3 separate regions of the Homo sapiens genome follow, and all the other regions are linked to region 3. The links are contacts of gene promoters, found by promoter capture Hi-C in human tissues and cell types (Jung and others, 2019). All regions are on one chromosome and are shown on one strand. The core of a region is centred on a gene start or on the middle of the fragment in contact, and the rest is flanking DNA. Distances in the headings are between cores, read along the strand shown. Region 1 overlaps ITSN1 (intersectin 1). Region 2 overlaps ITSN1 (intersectin 1). Region 3 holds the start of DONSON (DNA replication fork stabilization factor DONSON).

Region 1 (3,259 bases), core at 199-2,698, 210 kb after region 3:
CATAGAATGCATTTTATTTTCAGTAGCCTGCTAAGGAAATTACTGCTATTCCTGCAGCTAGTAGTATCAAGTGAGGAAATTGGATCCAAGGTATTCATCATCAAATTATAGCTTTTTACTTTTAACCTGATTGCTGGTTTAGTTTGGGGCAGTTAGCGACTTGAAGGATAGATTTAGTAAGAAAAGATGCTCTGGAAGAGGAGCAACTTGAAGAAAAATAGACCCTGGGGGGAAGAATTGAGGTCAAAGAATTGAGGAGCAAAGAGATGTCCATTTGTTCTAAGGCAGCTTAGTGAAAGGTGGAGGTGAGGTTTGAATGGAGGTAGTCAGTGAAGAAGAGGCATCTGTATTTTCAAAGCCAGTAAAGGTTGGTGTTGATTGATAATCAAAAGAAGCTTAAGTTTTATTCATGATCATCGTCATATCTTGGAACTGGTTACGTTCCATTATGATTGCTGAGCCTTTAGCAGCAGAGCTCACCTCCTGCCCTTCGCTAGCAGGTTTCTTCTAGAGCAGATCATGGAAAATGGTATAATGTGTATGGCTCATTAGAATGTAATCTTAAGTGGCCTTTGGAAATCAGTCATGTCAAAATGTGGTGTGATTCTAGCTTTCCAAGTTGACTTTTTCCAACTCTGAAACGTTATCTCCTAAGTGTCCTAGGCTTCCCACTATGAAATGTTGCATGCTGATAAATAGTTGATGTACCTGTCACTCATGTCGCTACATGAACTGTTTCTCGGTTAATTATAGGAACTAAGAGAAATACACAATAAGCAACAACTCCAGAAGCAAAAGTCCATGGAGGCTGAACGACTGAAACAGAAAGAACAAGAACGAAAGATCATAGAATTAGAAAAACAAAAAGAAGAAGCCCAAAGGTGAGTCTTCTTTGGATTGTGGACTCATCTGGAAGGAACTTTGAGGATTTACTATTCTTTGCTTGGCTTCTCCAAGTAGTTACTGCACCAGAAAGAGCCTTCAGTCTTTAGTGTGCATGTGAAGTGTGAGTGCAAACACAAACACGTGTATATATGAATCTTTGCATGTATCAGTACCCTCTGAAGTTTTTGGTTGGTTCCCAGAGCTCTCTCAAGCTACTACTATGTAGATAAATGGAATTATACAAGGAAATTGGGACACTTGGTGTGCTCATTTGCATGCTAATGGCCAGTTCACAGCCTTTTACTAACAGCTAACAGGGGTTGGAGTGCCTGGTTTAAAATCCAAGCCACTGAGCTAGTGCCCCACACAGGGCTTCTCCAGCAGGGTCAGGGTGGGCCTCTTCTGTTTTTCAACTGCAAATTAAACTTTAGTACAAAAGGGGGAAATTTGCCACCGCTGCTTAGTGTGTAGGATACAGACATGTTTTTATCTGTTTTTGTTTGAAGATTTATTTGTGATATTTTTATTTTTACTTGTAACTTACTGTAGTAAATTGTAGAAATTTGTGTCTGATTTTGTTACTGGGTATTTGCCTTTTAAATGTCAGTTAATTTTAGACTCCACGAAACAAAAATGACCAAATGTCCCAATGACAGCCCCGTAAATTATAAAAGTTGGTAATTGAAATTAGATTAAGGCCAGGCATGGTGGCTCACACCTGTAATCCCAGCACTTTGGGAGGCCGAGGTGGGCGGATCACGAGGTCAAGATATTAGGACCATCCTGGCCAACATGGTGAAACCCTGTTCTATTAAAAATGCAAAAAATTAGCTGGGCACGGTGGCACGCGCCTGTAGTCCCAGCTACTTGGGAGGCTGAGGCAGGAGGATCACTTGAACCCGGGAGGCGGAGGTTGCAGTGAGCTGAGATCATGCCACTGCACTCCAGCCTGGCAACAGAGCAAGACTCTGTCTCAAGAAATTAGATTAAAAAGGCGAAGAAACGGATACTTGAGGCAAGTCATTGACTTTAGTGGGCTGAGTTCAGTTAACCTGCCAAGAGCTGTGCATACTTTCTTATGGGTATATAGAGTCTTCTGTTTGTTTTTCAGTGCCAGTGGGGAGGTATCTGGGGTCCCAGACCAATTTACAGGATTGTTTTATGGTTTTCTTGGGGGTCAGACTAAGGATCTCCTCCTTGGATGTTGATTAACTCCATCCTTTTCTTACCCCCAGAGTTTATAAAATGCTTTTATTATTCACACTATACCACACTGAACTGTTAAATTCCTACAGTGTAGAAATAAACATAAAATACAGAAAAATACATAAAATAGCATAATACAGAAAATAGCATAAAAATATAATATGGAATATGTATTCCAATTATATAGATAAAAACTGCAAATTAACGTCAGAAATTAGATGGTTATACAGTATATATGGTGACCTTCATTGGTAGAAAATATAAAGTAATTCTTTTTTTTTTTTTTTTAATTTTTTATTTTTTGAGACGGAGTCTCGCTCTGTCACCCAGGCTGGAGTGCAGTGGCACGATCTCGGCTCACTGCAACCTCCGCCTCCCAGGTTCAACCGACTCTCCTGCCTCAGCTTCCCAAGTAGCTGGGACTACAGGTGTGTGCTACCACGCCCAGCTAATTTTTATATTATTAGTAGAGATGGGGTTTCACCATGTTGGTCTAGAACTCCTGGCTGGTCTAGAACTCCTGACCTCGTGATCTGCCCTCCTCAGCCTCCCAAAGTGCTGGGATTACAGGCATGAGCCACCGCGCCTGGCCACTGTTTTTATTATGGTTTTTTTGTTGTCATGAATAACCATATCCTTACCCCTCCAAAAAATGTTTTTATACTTTCTTAAAAGACATTTTAAAAATTGTAAATAAAATGTTTAAGATTTAAGTTTAAAGACTTCTGCATTAAAATATCACATTCATACAGAGTAGAAATAAATGTAATTTTTTGACAATGGAGAATAAAAGTATAATTTGTTTCAATTATGTTCCCGTGGCAGATTCCTAATTCTAGCCGATGACCTGTGTGCGTTAGCCATGTCACAGGATGGCAGTTCAGGGTGGAGACTCTGGGACCAGGCTGCCTGGGATTGAAGCCCATGCATGTATGGCTGTGTGACGTGGACAAGTCATTTAATATCTCTGCCCCAGCTTCCTCATTTGTAAAATAGGAGTAATACTAGGACTACCAACCTGATTCGCAGTTTAAAGGAGTTAATATATGGGGAGCTAGTTATTATTATGTCATTTGTTATTACATATTAGTTTCATTTAAAGTATTTTCTGACTTTATAAAGTATTATGGAATGAGAAAAATCATTCTCAGTCTTTTACTGTGGGTTT
Region 2 (3,253 bases), core at 365-2,864, 130 kb after region 3:
ATATTTTTCCAGTGACTGAATGGATTTTTACTTTATCTGTCAGTGTCATCCCAGACCCGGTAGAGAGGAGAGATGCAATGTTTAGATGTTTTTGCTGGTGTGCTGGGCACATTCACATTTTGTGTGAAACATACGTATTGTGTATTCCCAGTTTTGTGGAAGGTGTCCGAGCTTTTGAAAGCTTTCATGTATGTAATCTAGAATTATTTTAGTCAATTTGAGGAGACCTAGGACTAAAGTCTGCAAGATCTCAGTCGTGAGTGGACATCTAGTCAGCCTAAGAGCTGAAACTGAAGGAAAACCTAAAACCCATTCTCTTTGGCTATTATTTCATATCAGGACATCCCCTGCCCTTCTTTTTTTTTAAGTCTGTTTCCTGCATACTGAGATACCTGTTTTTAAAAACAGCTTTAGTGAAATATAATTTATATTCCATAAAATTTACTAGCTTTAGTTGTATAATAATTTTTAGCAAATTATATAGAGTTGTGCAGCCATCACCACAATCTAATATATTAATATTTTAATCACCCCCCAAAAGATTTTCATGGATATTTATCACACTCACCTTCTTCTTTCATAACTTTTGCCTGTGGCATTTAAGGCACTTGAGAGTACAGTTTTAGGTTTAAGTTAATTTAGTCTGTTGCTTGGGTTTATGTAAGTAAATTATTAATTTACTATAATCTTGCTAACTATGGGATTATAAAACAAGTTTCTAAAAAAGGAATGTGTGCCTCTTCTTTTCTTTCCCTCCCATTCTCTCTCTTTCTGTTTCTTACATTTTGTGTCCTGTTTTACACTTTTCTAACTTTATATGCATAACTTCCAAGGACAAGAAGATGTGAATTTATCAAGTCTTTATAATACATTGACAGAATCTTGAAGTGCTGTGGAAATAGTGTGTGAGAGCATTTTGTTTTCCTTTTCTCACTGAATAATTTGTTTGTCTTTTCTTTGGATTTTAGGCAGCCTGGATATCTGGGCCATAACTGTAGAGGAAAGAGCGAAGCATGATCAGCAGTTCCATAGTTTAAAGCCAATATCTGGATTCATTACTGGTAATCACAGTCAGCATTTTTTCATTTTTACTTATCAGTAGTGCAGATGTCTGTGGAAACTCTATCATGCAAAGACGAGATGGGCAAATATGACCAAGGAGAGACATTTACCTGTTTTGCCCTAACCTTGTGCCTGTCCTTTTACAATTTTTTTACACATAATGGAATCATACCTTGTTTGCAATTTTTAGTGCATGTCAAACCACTTGTTTTGTGCATGTAATTTATGGGAATTGGTTAAGATCAAAGGACCAATGGCTCACACCTGTAATCCCAGCACTCTGGGAGGCCGAGGTGGGCAGATCCCTTGAGGTCAGGAGTTCCAAACCAGCCTGGCCAACATGGTGAAACCCCGTCTCTACTAAAAATAAAAAATTAGCTGGGTGTCGTGGTGGGCGCCTGTAATCCCAGCTACTTGGAGGCTGAGGCAGGAGAATTGTTTGAACCCTAGAGGCAGAGGTTGCAGTGAGCCGAGATCACGCCACTGCACTCCAGCCTGGGTGACAGAGCGAGACTCCATCTCAAAAATAAACAAACTAATTTTCCTGTTTGATTATTTTTCAGAATTCACTTTATAAAAAGTGGAATCTTTATTTCCAGGGGAATTGTTCTGCTACCATGCCCAGCTAATTTTTTCTTCTTCTTTTTTTTTTTGAGACAGAATTTCGCTCTTGTTACCCAGGCTGGAGTACAATGGCGTGATCTCGGCTCACTGCAACCTCCCCTTCCAGTTTCAAACGATTCTCCTGCCTCAGCCTCCGAAGTAGCTGGGATTACAGGCACCCACTACCATGCCCAGCTTATTTTTTATATTTTTAGTAGAGATGGGGCTTCACCATGTTGGCCAGGCTGGTCTTGAACTTCTGACCTCAGGTGTCGTTCTTAATCATTGTTATTTATTCTCTGTAAATACTTCAGAAGTACCCAGAATTTGGAGTATAGGTATTGGGAATGGCAAATAACTTTTTTTATAAAGTGAAAGTATGGGTCATCAGTTTCCTAAGGATTTCTATAAATGTGCTTTTGCACAATGGGTAGCTGTTCATATCTTAGTTAATAGCAGATTAATTAAAGTGGAAAATCTATGCCAGGAAATGGTAGGCCCTTTTTGAGATGATTTTTTGAATTCTAAAGTCAGTGCTGATGGATTCTTTTACTGTTGCCTATGGGCTTATCCTTGGACTTTTATAATGCACTCAACTGGTATTTATAGTATTACCAGCCTCTTTGTAAATTTTGTAATTTTGCTATTACAGGATTTCTGTCAGCTGTTGTTTTTTTTTTTTTTTCCTGAAACTTTTTCTGTTTAATTTACAGGTGATCAAGCTAGAAACTTTTTTTTTCAATCTGGGTTACCTCAACCTGTTTTAGCACAGATATGGTAAGTTGGAATTTTACATGAAATTTTACATAAGCATAAGGCAAAATAAAATATCGTTTTGTTCTATTTGGTAATATGATTTCTTATGTTATAAAAGGAGAACATGTATCTCTAGCCTGAAATATCTTGTTACTTCTTACCAGAGAGTTATGTCTGAAAAGTGTCTTTCTCATATGGAACTAAAACAAAACAACAAAAAAAGTGGTGACATTTGAATGACAACACTGTCAAAAAGTTGAATTTCCATGGAGACATCTAAATTTTGGTGTTCCTTCACCAATTAGTTTTGGCTTCACCCATATCACCCACATTTATTTGAATGTCCCACATTTCTTGCTTTATAATGGAATGATTTTTTATCTTTCATTGACTGAAGAATAAAAGGTAAAGAAAATATTTGAGAGTTAGTGCATGGTAAATCCATAACATTAATAGATAATAGTGAATTATTTGACTATCACAAATAGGCATTCAATCTTTTAAGCCACAGGAAATACAGAGAGTATAATAAAAAGGGTGGCAAATACAGTTTTGGATTCTTGGCTCATGGCTTTGGAGAGCCATGCTGAATTCTGTTGTCCTCTAAGATGTCTCATTTTTTTCACCAAGGGTGCTTAATACTTCACTTCCCTGAGTTAATTAGTGATACGAAGGCAGCTCGCTATGAAGAAAGAGCATGTAGGCTGGGCGCGGTGGCTCATGCCTGTAATCCCAGCACTTTGGGAGGCCGAGGCGGGCGGATCACGAGGTCAGGAGATGGAGACCATCCTGGATAACACGGTGAAACCCCATCTCTCCTAAAAATACAAAA
Region 3 (3,008 bases), core at 292-2,791:
GAGCAACGAGGTTCAGTGCTATGCCACAACCTGTGGAGGTGGGCCAGGAGGGCTGGCTCTGAGTGATGAACTGGAGAAGTCAACTGCCCAAAGAAGAGTGGTAAAAACTGTTAGAGAGTAAAAGAAAACCCCCACGTCTATCAGGCCTATTTTAGCGCTGGCTATCTTTACAGTCATCATTACTGTATCAAACCAACTCCTTTACCTTGGCTGATGCGGTATTTTCATCCCTGGTTGAGATGATCAAGCCTCTCTGTAAAACTACTTTCCAAGCAAAATGCTTCTGAGAAGTATAAATGTATTTTTAAAAATAGGCTCAAATCCTATGAAAAAAAAGTTTATACAAATACACATTCTAATGATATTTAAAAAGTATTACCTGAGGTAATTCAGTAACAGTTGTTCTTTCAGGAAACTTCTCTTCCCATAGCAAATCATTTTCTTGATTAGAATCTAAAAACTGAGGTTAAATATATTCTCCTTTAAAATTTAAAGGATGCTGAAGTTTGCGTTAAATATGTACAGAGCCTCACCTGGCATACATGTTTCTCAATAAACGCAAGTACACCTAAATTCAGAGGCACCCCATCCAATCTATGAGTTTCAACACTTCAGTTTTGTGTCTGAACTTTAGTATCAAAATTGAGGGGAACAGGGACCGGCGTTTCAAACCGAAAGATCCAAAAGGCTTTGGGTAAGACAGATGCTAGTGAATTCTGACCCCACGAATCCTCGACATTCCCCCATCTCCAGAATAATTTGGAGTGCGTGAGAGAAGGGAGGCCCTAAATCACGGGGGAAGCAGGGCTTGTCACCTGCCCCATCGAACAGCGTCCTTGCAAGATGGGGGCTCTCAGGGTTTTTCGAGCTCTTTTCCAAGTCACCTCTAAGTCCTCTCCAAGGGGCTCCTCGCTGCCCTCTGGGGCCCCCTCACTTTCCTCGGGAACGCGTCCCGTGAGCACAGCCCGCAGCGGGGTAGCCAGGGGAGCGCTCTTCCCACAAACCCGGCCTTGCCAGAATCGCGGCTCCCAGGGCGGGGTACCCTAAGGCCACGGGCGGCCGAAGTCTTCGCGCCCATTTCCTTGCCTCGAACGCGAGGACTTTCCATCCCCCATTCACAGCTGGCTCAACCCACGAAAGACAAGAGCCCCTTGGCGGCCAGGCTACAAGACACTCACCGGGACCGGGGCCTCCGGCTGCTCGCGGGCCGGCCCGTCGGGGGGCTCCGCGGCGACCCGCGGTCGGTTGTCCAGGCGGGCGAAGGGGTTCCTCCGAGCAGCGGCCGGGCCGCCGCCGCTGCCACCGCCTCTGCCCCCCGCAGCAGGGAAAGGGCGAAGAGGCAGCCCCGCCACCAGGGCGGCTCGGCGGGCCGCCGGCTCCGTCAGCTCACGGGGCGGGGAGGCGGCAGCTCCACGGCTCCGGGCCCTTTTCCGTCGGAGCCGCACTACCTCGGGCGGCTTTCGGAAGCCCGGTGAGTAGCCGGGCACCGAAAGGGCCATGACGCGCGGCGGCTGAGGGTAGCCGGCCGCCCTACAGAGACTTCCCGCGCGCGCCGGGCCCGCCCCTGACGTGGCGCCTCGCCGAGCTCCCGCCCCCGACGCGGCCCCGCCTCCGCCCCCGCCGGTTCCGAGCGGAGCATGCGCAGTGGGCAGCCCGCGAGACGCAGCCCGCAGCGGCGATCCCGGGTGGCCGTCAACGCCCACTGTCCCAGCGGTGACCCTGCCCTGGCGCTTCTGCCAGGTCCTCGGCCAGAGTCCAGTCGCCAGGTTCAGCGACGCTTCTGGAAAGTATGCGATCCAGGGCGCTGATGTGCACTACCCTGTGGGGCACCGAAATAGCTTAACTCTATTTAAGCCCGCAGCAGGGATGTGATCAGCCCGGGGTTTGGCGCCTGGATGAAAAGGAAACAAACTTGAGCTGCGGCGATGGGCTGCTGCTTCCATAAACTTAAGAGAGGGCAGTGGCTACTGCTCTCAAGAGGCGAGGAGAGGGGACTAGGCCACCTTCCTCAACCCCCAGAGAACTCAGATAAGACGTCAGCACGCTTCCTATGCCAGCGCAGCCTACCGACATCCCTCCCTTCCCCGTTCCCAGTGCCTGGTCATCTCAGACTTCCAGGCAGCTGCCACTGGCAAGTTAATGGGATCTTCTTTGATCCTGGGGAAAGCCGGAGTGAATGAATAGTTGAAAACACAAAATTTAAGTGCCTATGGGCTAAGTCTTTTAAGACTTCAAAATATACTCAAATGCTTAAATTATGACAGCAAAGACTTAAGGAAGGTGTTGAGAACGGAGTTGATACAAAATTAATACGTTACTTTGATAGCTTAGCAAAGGCCTGCAACAGCTTTTATCAAGAGTAGTGTGACTTTTGCTGAAAGCAGCAGTTTTCTTCATGGAAGGAATTTTATAGCAGGGGCAAAATATATAGAAACAATGAAAAGGTTTTTAGAAAAATTCCCTTAAGATGTTAATTATAGAATTATCTTGATCATTTGCACAAGAATTTTTCAAACACTTTTCAAATGTGTCAACTGAGCATCTTGTCTTAGCAGAGAAACGTGCTTAAAAATGCAACTTGTTTTATCTTCCTTGGTTTTTCTCAACAATTTCCAAAGAAAATTCTGGCTTCAAATACTGGAATATGTTCATCCGACTGAGGTCTGAGAAAGAAGAAAATTAAAATTGAACAACTTGCTTTTTTCTTCCTTGATTTTTCTGAACAGCTTCCATGGAAACTTTTGCCTCATACAGTGGAATGGGTTCATCCAACTGAGGTCTGAGAAGGAATGAAATTAGAAATGTCAGGTCTAGTTAAAGATAAGTAGAACAAACAGGGTGGTATATGACAAATGCTAGTGCTCAAATCTATTAGTGTATTAATTAATTTTTTGAGACAGAGTCTGGCTCTCTCATCCAGGCTGGAGTGCAGTGGCACGATCTCAGCTCACTGCAACCTCCGGCTCCCGGGTTCAAGCAATTCTCATACTTCAGCCTCCTGAGTAGCT

What was found. The method cuts DNA at HindIII sites, captures the fragments that hold promoters and counts their contacts. A contact is called where the count stands out against the background at its distance.
Region 1: a fragment that was not itself captured here is called in contact with the fragment with the promoter of DONSON in region 3 in 5 of the 25 tissues and cell types used here (IMR-90 fibroblasts, heart right ventricle, hippocampus and 2 more).
Region 2: a contact is called between a fragment that was not itself captured here and the fragment with the promoter of DONSON in region 3, in 2 of the 25 tissues and cell types used here (H1 embryonic stem cells and mesendoderm cells).

The regions. Positions count from the first base shown.
Region 1 is chr21:33,793,588-33,796,846 of GRCh38, forward strand. It overlaps ITSN1 (intersectin 1), which reads left to right. Exons shown (of 40, transcript NM_003024.3): 17 at 754-881. Among named protein-coding and RNA genes, the nearest start is that of ATP5PO, 120 kb to the right of the region's middle. The HindIII fragment of the contact is 8,773 bases long and covers 1-3,259 here.
Region 2 is chr21:33,720,210-33,723,462 of GRCh38, forward strand. It overlaps ITSN1 (intersectin 1), which reads left to right. Exons shown (of 40, transcript NM_003024.3): 3 at 969-1,061; 4 at 2,379-2,442. Among named protein-coding and RNA genes, the nearest start is that of ITSN1, 79 kb to the left of the region's middle. The HindIII fragment of the contact is 4,833 bases long and covers 1-3,253 here.
Region 3 is chr21:33,587,143-33,590,150 of GRCh38, forward strand. DONSON (DNA replication fork stabilization factor DONSON) reads right to left here and starts at 1,542. Exons shown (of 10, transcript NM_017613.4): 1 at 1,179-1,542; 2 at 380-460. The coding sequence starts at 1,499. It overlaps CRYZL1 (crystallin zeta like 1), which reads right to left. Exons shown (of 13, transcript NM_145858.3): 13 at 2,199-2,779. The coding sequence ends at 2,680. RefSeq lists a silencer at 1,083-1,772 and an enhancer at 1,231-1,730. The HindIII fragment of the contact is 19,336 bases long and covers 1-3,008 here.